Linked DNA regions of Homo sapiens: region 2 is linked to region 1. The links are contacts of gene promoters, found by promoter capture Hi-C in human tissues and cell types (Jung and others, 2019). All regions are on one chromosome and are shown on one strand. The core of a region is centred on a gene start or on the middle of the fragment in contact, and the rest is flanking DNA. Distances in the headings are between cores, read along the strand shown. Region 1 holds the start of MST1 (macrophage stimulating 1). Region 2 overlaps TCTA (T cell leukemia translocation altered).

Region 1 (5,858 bases), core at 1,414-3,913:
GGTAATGGGGCGTGAACAAGACCCTGGGACTCTGGCTTATCTGGCCCCGCCCAATTGCCCTACACGGAGCCCTGCCCCTGGAGTCCTGGACCTTCCCTAGCCCGGCCCCCAGGACGCCGATACCGCCTACGCGTACTTGCCCGGCTCGAAGGGGTGCTGGTGCGGGTGCTGAAGATCCCAGCGCTGGCACTCGCGCCCTGACTCCGTGCGGTCTACCGCGCCGCGGTATTCCTCGCCATTGCACCAGACACACGCGGCTGGAGACAAAGAGCCAGTGGGTTCGTGGATGGACGTGGGCTTGTCCCTCCACTCTCCCAGCTTGACCCGGCGCCGCTTACCCTCCCGGCAGGATTTGATGCCGCAGCTCTGGAAGCGCACAGCAGGGTCTGTTGTGTAGCACCAAGGACCTCCGGGGTCGCCATCAGGGTTACGGCAGAAGTTCTCTTCCAGGCCATTCCGGAGAGTGGGCGTGTACCTGAGGGCCCAGAGCATCACTATAGTGTGTGCTGGGGGAAGGCCCCAGGCCGGGACGGAGGGAAGGTGTTTGTCTCACTTGTGATCATTTGGGAACTTGTGGCTCCAAGCCTGGCAGGGCAGGCCACCCACGGTCGTGGCCATGGTGCCCCGGTACCCAACCCCATTGTTCATGATGCAGGTCCGTACGTAGTCTGGGAGCAAGAGACAGAAGATCAACTTGGGCTGAGGTCCCCTGTCTCCCACCCTGCCCCTCTCCACCCCCACTTGCCTTTCTTCTGGAAGAGGTCACAGCGCCCAGAACGCCGCAGCCTCGTGTGGGGCGAGTGTTGAGTCCATGGCAGCAGTTGGCAACCATGGCTGCTCACGTTGTAGTGGAAGGCCCTGGAGAGAAGAAGGCACAGGGTAACGCCACAGCCCAGGCTTCCCTGCCCCCAGTCTTATCTAGGCCCAGTGGCCACTCACCGGCAGTCCATTAAGGGCCCACAGCGACCAGCACACTCTTCAGCATCTGCCACATCCTCCTGCCAAGGCCCGGGCACCACCGCATGTAGCAGGTGCTGTAGCTCTGTGCCCCGGAGCACTTGGAAGTCATTCAATGGCGAGCGCTGCCCTGCAGAGTAGGCATGAGTGGGTGCAGGTCAGGTGGGCATACATGTCAGTAATGTGTATTGGCATGTCCACACTTTGTTCATTCAGGGGATCAAAGCTACAAGGCTTCTGGGATGGACCCTGTATGCACTTTCAAGGGCCAGTCTAGCCCCCTGCACAGATACTTGTGAAAAAAATTTCCCCTGGGAAGCAGGCCCAGACTTGGTAGTTATCACCGGTGCCTCTGTTTAGTGGCCCAGGCACCGGGCTCAGATCTAACACATACGCTCTGTGAGAGCAGTGGGTGATGAAGCTTGCCCCACCTCATCTCTCAAATGAGAATGCTAAGGCTCAGAGCCATCACATTACCCAGCCAGGGGCCCTGGCTAGGCATTCAGACTCCAAATCTGGGCTCTCACCTGCACAAAGGCATATGCTAGGTTAGAGGGGTAGATCAGGCTCAGGAGGGGTCACTGCCTGCTGTGTGCGTGCATCTGTGTGGTCCTGACACTGCTTCAGTGCTAGAGCAGACGTGCTAATAGAGGCCTAAGTGGGCAATGTCTATGTGTTCCTAGGGCTTCCCAGCTGTGCTCAAGAGGGCAAGGTCACTGCCCCATGCCCACTGAGCCTCTGGCTCCCCGACTTTTTTCTCATCCTAGAATAGGAGAATGGGGCCAACCCCCTCCTGAAGGCAGATGGGGATCAGGGTTGGGGGCACTTACCAGGGACCCCTAAGCATTGAGTCAGAAGCAGCAGGAGTGGGAGCCACCCCATCCTTCTGGCTGGAGGCTGCACTGTGACCCACCACAGCCCCATCCGGGAAGTTGTGAAACCTGTCCCTACGGGATTGGGTGGCTCTGGCTCCACACGTCAGCTCAGGGCCTGCTGGACCCTGACCTGAGACCTGGTGACAGGAGCCATGAGGGGCCAGGCCTCAGGTCCCATAGGTCAGTTGCAAGGGCCTAGTACAGCTTAGTGGACAGGTGTTAGGAAGGTTTGGTGGGGACACTTGAGGTGCCCTGGGGTTGGGGTGAAACCCCTCTGCAGCCTAGTCAGCCCAAGGGCATTGTGAAAGTGAGAGCTGCCAGAGGTCTGGGCTCCAGCCCCTGGGTGACATTAAACTTTTCTGAATTTCGGTTTTTCCCTGTAAATTGGGGAAAATTACTTGCCCCAGCTTCAACACTGCCTCCCCTCCACCCTTTTGCTGCTGCCTTATCAGGCCCCAGCTGTAGGCAGGTCAGCCCACACCCGGCGGCAGAGCCCAGAGAGGCTCGCTCATCTCAGCCGCCAGAAGTGTCATCCCAGGGAAGGTGAGCGAGGCTGTCCACTAGGACTAAATAGGGGTGGAGGTAACAGGTAGCAGGGACTCTGGCAGGAACGGCCTTTCAGACGTTTTAAGGACCGTCTGAGCGGGGCCTCTAAGTATGGGTAGGAGACAGGCGGCCTAGGGATTCCGGTTAGCATGTCGCGTTCTGCCGCAGCAGGGCTGGGAGCATCCCCAGAGCAGGCGGAGGTCGGAGGTGGTGAGGCCTTTCGGCGAAGCTGAGGCCTGGAACAACCCGGTGGGAAGCCATGGAGGGGGTCCCCTAGCGGAGGCTGGGCGCGGGCCAGTGCGCGTGCGCGGCTGGAGGCTCAGCGCGCAAGCGTGCGCGTGATTTGGCCCTGAACGGACGCCGTAGCCAAGAGGTTGGGCGGATGTTGTGAGCCGGGTCGCTGCGGCCGAGGCTCCGGGTGAGTGAGGGGCGGCAGGGCTCTGAGCCTGGCGGGTTCCGGCTATTCCCTTCGCGGTCCGGGCTAGTCCAGTGCGAGGGCACCTGCAGCGCAGGGATCTGGGTGCGAAACTCCGAGCGGAAGCTGGTCTGGCAGGTCCTGTGGAGCTTGGGGCCAGGCGGGGGCGACTTGGGGGAGCCATGCGCCGCCCTCGCCGTCCTTGGGCTCCCAGACGGAGTAGGTTCAGTTCTGAGTCCGGATACCCCGGCGGGGTTGGACGGGATAGCCGTGACAGGGAGTCCCCGGGCGGGGACAAGGTCCGCCTCTCACCTGGGTCCTCAGCAACTGACTCCCGGAGCCCACTCCGGGTGTCTGGAAGGTCTGCTCATCAAATGAATGACTGAGTTTAATCAGATCTTCAACTACTCTGGTAGTGAAGGGGCACCGATCATGGACGCCCACCGAGGGCCCGAGGTCGGGAAAATCACCTTCCCGAGGAGCAGGCGTGGTGCAGACCCACAAGGGTTTGTGGCGGGAGTAGAGGGTCTGTTTGGGGTGAGATAAGAGACTGAACTGCAGAGTAGGGAGTGCTGGCTAAGGCAGTGCTGCAGAGCGAAACTCTAGACCTGCGCTGTCTAATAGAACTTTATATGATGGTGGGAACGTTCTACCTTTGTGCTGTCCAACAGAGTAACCATTAGCCACATGTGGTCATTGAACTCTTGAAATGTGGCTAAGGCAACTGAGAAATCGAATTGTTAATTTTTAAAACTTTAAATTTAAGTAACCTCATGTGGATGACGGCTGCTGTGTTGGACAGCACCGCTACACATCAGTGAGGCCAGCACCAGGGACTCAGTGCAGGTTCTGGAGCAGCTGCAGCAGCAACATGATGTGAGGGATAGATGCACTAGGAGGACCAATGGAGTTTGCCATGAGGGCTGGGCAAGGGTGGTGCTTGGATGAGGTGGGAGGCCACATGTGTGAGTGGGAATGGTGAAACTATCAGGACCATGGATAAAAGAAGGGAGGAACCCAGGGCTGAGGAAAGAGGCTCCAGCCTTGTGGGGAGTAAGTGGGACTTATGGCTAGAGATGACCAGACCAGTGGTGGTCTGCACTTGGGGGAATGTGTAGGATTGTCGCTTCTGGTTGTGAGCTGGACTCAGTATGGCTTACAACTGAGATGGATACAGGGGCTCTGCCCCTAGGACACCTCACTTTGGACATTTTGGTCTGATTTCCACAGAGCTGAGACATTTTGTTATGGTTCGGCAAAAATATATCTAGTACCTGCTCTCTGCCCAGCCCTGTGCTGGGCACAGGGACACTGGAGAACAAGAAGTGGTCCCTGTTACATGGGCCTAGACCCTGGCTACCCTCCCTGTGTAGGAAGCTGGGAGCCCCTGCATTCCCCTGCCCTATGTGTTAGTGTGCATGCCCCTGGCCTCACCTGCTCCCAAGCCTTCCTGCCATGGCAGGACTGAGGTCAGGTGTGGGGGCCCCTGGCTGGCCCTGAGTAGACAGGCTCTGTGTCTGGCTCAGCCCCCAGGACCACTGGCTGCCCATGAGAGATGAAGGATGGCATCCAAGGGGGCCGGCATGTCTTTCTCCCGCAAGAGCTATAGGCTGACCTCAGATGCTGAGAAATCCAGGGTCACAGGTAAGAGCTGGCAGGGAAGGAAGGAGGCTCCTCTTGTTGGGAGGAGAAGGAAGGGACAAAGGCCTCAGGCCTTGCTGCACCTGTGGCTGGCCTAGGACCAGAAGTCTCTGGGGCCAGCAGGGGCCAGGAGCTGCACTGATCATGTGGCCCTTTTCTCCCTTCTGACTTGTGGCTCAGGCATTGTGCAGGAGAAGCTGCTGAATGACTACCTGAACCGCATCTTTTCCTCTTCTGAACATGCACCCCCAGCAGCCACCAGCAGGTATGGCTGGGTGGGTGGCCCCTCCTCACTCTGCTGGGCCAGACCAGAATAAGGAGGCTGCAGTTGTAGGGAAAGGGAGCCTGGGCTCTGGACAGATAGGCTTAGGCTCTGTTCTCACTGTGCTCCTGGCTGCGAGATCTCTGGCCAGAGAGTCTGCCTTCCGTACTCTGCTTCTTCCTGTCTCCAGGCAGTGCTAGTTCCTTCTGAGAGTCAGGGAGCAGAGGTCAGGGAGCGGGTGCACATTCATGCCCAGCTAGCACCTGGCACCTACTCCATACCCAGCATCTGCCCCTGCATGTACCTGCCCTCACCTTGGCCCCAGCCTGGCCCCTTGTAGCTTCTGACTGACCTTGTAAAGAACAAACTCCTCCAGGGCCTTTTCTTTACAAGTTTAATACTTTTAAGTGTAGTCAGTATAAAAGTTACAAGTACATTTTAGCAGAAACTTAGAGGGCCAGGCACAGTGGTTCACACCTGTAATCCCAGCACTTTGGGAGGCCAAGGTGGGTAGATTGCTTGAGTCCAGGAGTTCAAGACCAGCCTGAGCAACATGGCAAGACCCCATCTCTACAATAAAATACAGAAATTACCTGGGCATGGTGGTGTGCACCTGTAGTCCCAGCTGTTAGGGAGGCTGATGTGGGAGGATCACTTGAGCCTAGGAGGTTGAGGCTGCAGTGAGTTGGCCTCTGCATGCCACTGCACTGTAGCCTGGGTGACAGAGCAAGACCCTGTCTCTAAAAAAAGAAGGAAAAGCACCTGCTATCTTGTTATTTTAACATGACTATTCAAATGTGATTCTTTTCTGTTTCTTTCTTTGTGTTACATTTTTAATTTTTAATTTTTGTGGGTATGTAGTAGGTATATATATTTATAGGGTACATGAGATACTTTGATACAGGCATGCAATGCGTAATAATCACATCATGGTAAATGGGGTATCCATCCCCTCAAGCATTTATCTTTTGTCTTATAAACAATCTAGTTATACTCTTTTAGTTATTTTTAAATGTACAATTATTATTTACTATAGTCACTCTGTTCTGCTACCAGATAGGTCTCATTAATTCAATTTTTTTGTACGCATTAGCCATCCCCATCTCCCCACAAGCCCTATACTACCCTTCCAAGCCTCTGGTAACCATCCAGTACTTTGCCT
Region 2 (4,099 bases), core at 1,273-3,772, 270 kb before region 1:
TTGAACCCGGGAGGTGGAGGCTGCAGTGAGCTGAGATCTTGCCATTGCACCCCAACCTGGGCAACAAGAGTGAAACTCCGTCTCAAAAAAAGAAAAGTAATAACAATAGTAATAAATAAAAAGAATAAAAAAACTAGAGAAGGATGGCAATGCCGTACTAACATGGAGAACCAGGAAGAAGAATGAGTCTGCAGGGAGAAGGTGCTGGGCCCAGGGTGGGCTGTGGGAGACCAGCAGAGAGGTCTAGATTGTTATGTGACCTTACTGAGCCTAGCTCAGCCCCCAAGAAGGAGCTTGGGAGAGCCAATTTCAGCAACTGTTCTGCCCATGGAATAACCACTCTCTCTTCTCTCTCTCCATCACTTTCAGGGAAATGGCAGCAAACGAACCTCTCAAAACCCACAGAGAATAAGGGAAGGCAGCAGAGGGTCTCCAAGGGCATCACTGGGTCTGCTGGCTTCTACACTGGGTTCTGCTACTCCCCAGACCTCAGGGACAACTGCCGGGGGTTCAGGGTTGGTAGCAGGGAGTACCCAGTGCCTACAGGGCTGGGCCTCTTCTGCCTCTTAAGCCTGCTCCCTCACCCAGGCACTGGGCAAGTGAAGAGTTTGCCTGTACTCTTATCTGGGTGCCTTAAGGAGAGAGATTGTGTTCTTCCTCTCTCAGGGGTGATAACTCAGGAAGCCTCTGGGTTGGGAAGACCATCAGTTCTTTTGTCTTAGGTTTCTTTTCCTGTCCCTCTTCCATCCCCAAGATGTGACCCCATAAAAATTTTTCCTGAGTTGGCCAGGCATGGTGGCTCACGCCTGTAATCCCAACACTTTGGGAGGCTGAGGCAGGCAGATCACGAGGTCAGGAGTTCGAGACCAGCCTGACCAACATGGTGAAAACCCCATCTCTACTAAAAATACAAAAATTAGCCGGGTGTGGTGGCACACACCAGTAATCCCAGCTACTCAGGAGGCTGAAGCAGGAGATTTGCTTGAACCTGGGAGGCAGAGGTTGCAGTGAGCCAAGATTGCGCCGTTGTACTCCAGCCTGGGCAACAGAGCAAGACCCATCTCAAAAAAAAAATTTTTTTCCTGAGAGGAAGCCTGAGGTTGACCAGCTCTGGGGTTTGTAAGGCAGGTCTGTTTTCTCCTAGGCCCTGAGTTTTCTGAATCTCTGGTTTTGCTTTGTTGGCAAGGAGCCAGGGAATCCTGACCTGAGCCAGACCTTAAGCTCTATGGTTATTTAGCTGGCCATTCAGGTATAAGGCAGGGTGGTGTACCTGCTGGCACTATCCAGATGGAGGCACCAAACACCCACATACCTGGCCCAACCAGACTTCTCCCGTGAGCCAGGCAAAGGAAATTGTCATCTGCCAACTGTCCTACTCATATTCCTCTCAGTCCTTCTTGGGGGTAAGCTGATTACCTGAAGGACAGCTGAACCCCTGGGGTAGCCTCCTATCCACCACTGCTTAAGTGCCTATGGGAATGTGGGTCTGCACCTTGTCCCCTCATAGGATGGTACCAAGCATTTAGTGCACAGTGGCCCCATCATAGCCTGCAGCCTCATCATTTCCCATCTGGACCTGGTACAAATGCACGTCACAGGCTCAGCTCCTCCCCACTAGCATTTTCTCTACCTTCAAGAACCAGGCAGCCCTGCCATGTCACAATAGGCCAGGGGAGTTTCCAAAGATGTGGGTGGCAAATGCCCCTATAGAAACACCAGTACCTGAAAGCACTGTAGCCCTGGACCTGCCTCCTTCCCTCGGGGCCATACTTCTGTTTCCATCTGCTGGGCCACCAGCCACTTTAGTGACCCCTGCCTACTTCCTTCCTGTTGGATATCATACTTCCATCTGGCTGCCTTTGCTTAAGCCATCTTTGTGGTAGAGGGGCCCTGGAATTGCAGCTGTACTGAGGATGATGTTATTCACAGCCCCTGGCCCACCCACTAATACTACTGCACAGAGTCAGGATCTCACATTTCACCCCAGGCTCAACTGAGGATGTGGCTTATTAAACACGGAAGTGCATCGGTTGTTGTGGTTATTCAGACAGAACAAGGGTGTGCATGCACAGGGGCAGTGAGAGAGGGAACATCCTGGAAGCTGTTGCCCCTTGGGACCCAGATGCAATAACTTGCAGGGAGGGGAGAGGTGATGCAGCTCCCTGGAGGAGCAGGGATGGGGTGCCCAACAGGGGCAATATCTCCATTTTTATAGACTGGCCCCTTTCAAGGAGAACCTATTCCAAGCTTGTCTTGGAGGCCAGGAAGGCAGGCATTGGGTTGGCATTTCAGGAACCCTGTGAACAGAGAACAATGAAGCTAGAGACTGGCAAGTAAGAAGGAAGTTTAATTTTTTTTTCAGGATTCAGTGGAGTCCATTAATGCATACCAGGGGCAAAGATCAGCCCAGGGTAAGGCAAGTCTGGGAGGAAGCCCACCCTGCCCTACAGCAGCCCTGGAACTCAGAATAGGTGGTGAGTCTGCCATGGTTTGCTACTGGGCAGCACACTAGACCAACTTGGGAATGTGGAAGAGTGAGTCTATGTTCCCTCAGCCATCCCCAAGTTTACACACAGGCATAGCAGCCCTACTGTGAGTCAGCAATCATTCCTGACTTGCAGTAAGGACAATTTGCATTTACGGAAAGCAAACTGGAGGGGGTAGCCTAAGTCCGCACTGCCCATGTTATTACCCTTTGCAATGTGAAAAACCATGGTGAGGTAGGTTGGGCAGGTTTTATCCTCTCCACAAAGGTGAGCCTTTGCTCCACAGCCAGCACCTGGCAGAGTGGGAGAGATGGCAGAACCAAAGCTTCTCATTACCCTCCAGCAGGCAAGAGTAGGTCAGTGGGATCATGGACTGAAACAAGACATTGTGTGAGCTGGTCCGTCACTCAGAAGCAGGGTCCTGAAGGAAGCTGGAATGGCATGAGTTAGGTGGGGGGAATAGGTGGTGTGGCCCCTCAACCAGACAATTAGAATCAGCCTCCACCTTAACTGCCCACCCCCAGTGAGTTCTGCCTCAGCTTCTTGACTAACCCCTTGTAGGGGCAAAACTCCTGGAAGGGACAGCCCCACCCTGAGCCAGCTTCACTTGAGGGTATAGTAGTTTGTGGGCACAAAGGGCATCTTGCTGACTACAGCCATCTGCTGCTTCCGCCGCACCTCTACCAGCAGCATTGTCCCTGGACGACTGTACTCGCAGGGCACATAACCCATCGCCACATTCTTCTTCAGAGAGGGGGAGGGGCAGCCACTAGTCACAGTACCTGTCAAGCAAGCATAAGCCACGCATCAGCACCACCCTGCCAGTGCCCCCACCCTCCTGGGAAGAGACAAGGGTTTCCCAGCTTCCCTGGTCCACCTACCAATCTTGGTACCCTCCATGTTCAGGATGGGACTGTGTGCCCGCATGGGGGCCCCCTCACACATCAACCCCACACGCCTCCGCTGCACCCTGCCCTTCAGCTGGGGAACAATGACCTTGGCTCCAGGGAAGTCCATAGCAGCTCGGCGGCGCTTCCCTGGAGAATGACACATGAGACATAAGCCACAGCCCATAGAAGCCCTGGCCACAGGAGGTCCTTATGAGGTCCTCAAGTAACACACTATCTAGCATCAAGGCCCCTTTGCTTGGGCTACTCCAGGCTCTATTCCTCCCTTCACTGCCGTCAGCCAACCAACCACCTCCTATCCCCTGGAGGCCATGCTGCCCACCTGCCGAGCGTCTTCAGTTTCTTTTTTTTTTTTTTGAGATGGAGTCACTCTGTCGCCCAGGCCTAGAATGCAGTGGCACGATCTCAGCTCACTGCAAACTCTGCCTCCCAGGTTCAAGCAATTTACCTGCCTCAGTCTCCCGAGTAGCTGGGATAACAGGCACCCGCCACCACGCCTGGCTAATTTTTATATTTTCAGTAGAGACGGGGTCTCACCATGTTGGCCAGGCTATTCTCGAATTCCTGACCTCATGATCCACCCACCTTGGCCTCCCAAAGTGCTGGGATTACAGGTGTGAGCCACCATGCCCGGCAGCATCTTCAGTTTCTTTTTTTTTTTTTTTTTTTTTTTTGAGACGGGGTCTCGCTCTATCGCCCTGGCTG

The links. Contacts are between HindIII fragments. The study calls those that stand out against the background at their distance.
Region 2: a fragment that was not itself captured here is called in contact with the fragment with the promoter of MST1 in region 1 in 1 of the 25 tissues and cell types used here (dorsolateral prefrontal cortex).

What each region holds. Positions count from the first base shown.
Region 1 is chr3:49,686,811-49,692,668 of GRCh38, forward strand. It overlaps MST1 (macrophage stimulating 1), which reads right to left and starts at 2,664. Exons shown (of 18, transcript NM_020998.4): 1 at 1,788-2,664; 2 at 940-1,087; 3 at 746-858; 4 at 554-668; 5 at 339-475; 6 at 137-257. The coding sequence starts at 1,881. RNF123 (ring finger protein 123) reads left to right here and starts at 2,747. Exons shown (of 39, transcript NM_022064.5): 1 at 2,747-2,796; 2 at 4,320-4,437; 3 at 4,615-4,699. The coding sequence starts at 4,356. RefSeq lists enhancers at 1-501, 2,018-2,577 and a silencer at 56-175. The HindIII fragment of the contact is 11,098 bases long and covers 309-5,858 here.
Region 2 is chr3:49,414,451-49,418,549 of GRCh38, forward strand. TCTA (T cell leukemia translocation altered) reads left to right here. Exons shown (of 3, transcript NM_022171.3): 3 at 370-2,026. The coding sequence ends at 412. AMT (aminomethyltransferase) reads right to left here. Exons shown (of 9, transcript NM_000481.4): 8 at 3,368-3,523; 9 at 2,328-3,268. The coding sequence ends at 3,090. Among named protein-coding and RNA genes, the nearest start is that of TCTA, 4.1 kb to the left of the region's middle. RefSeq lists enhancers at 1,572-1,781, 3,208-3,926. The HindIII fragment of the contact is 4,017 bases long and covers 515-4,099 here.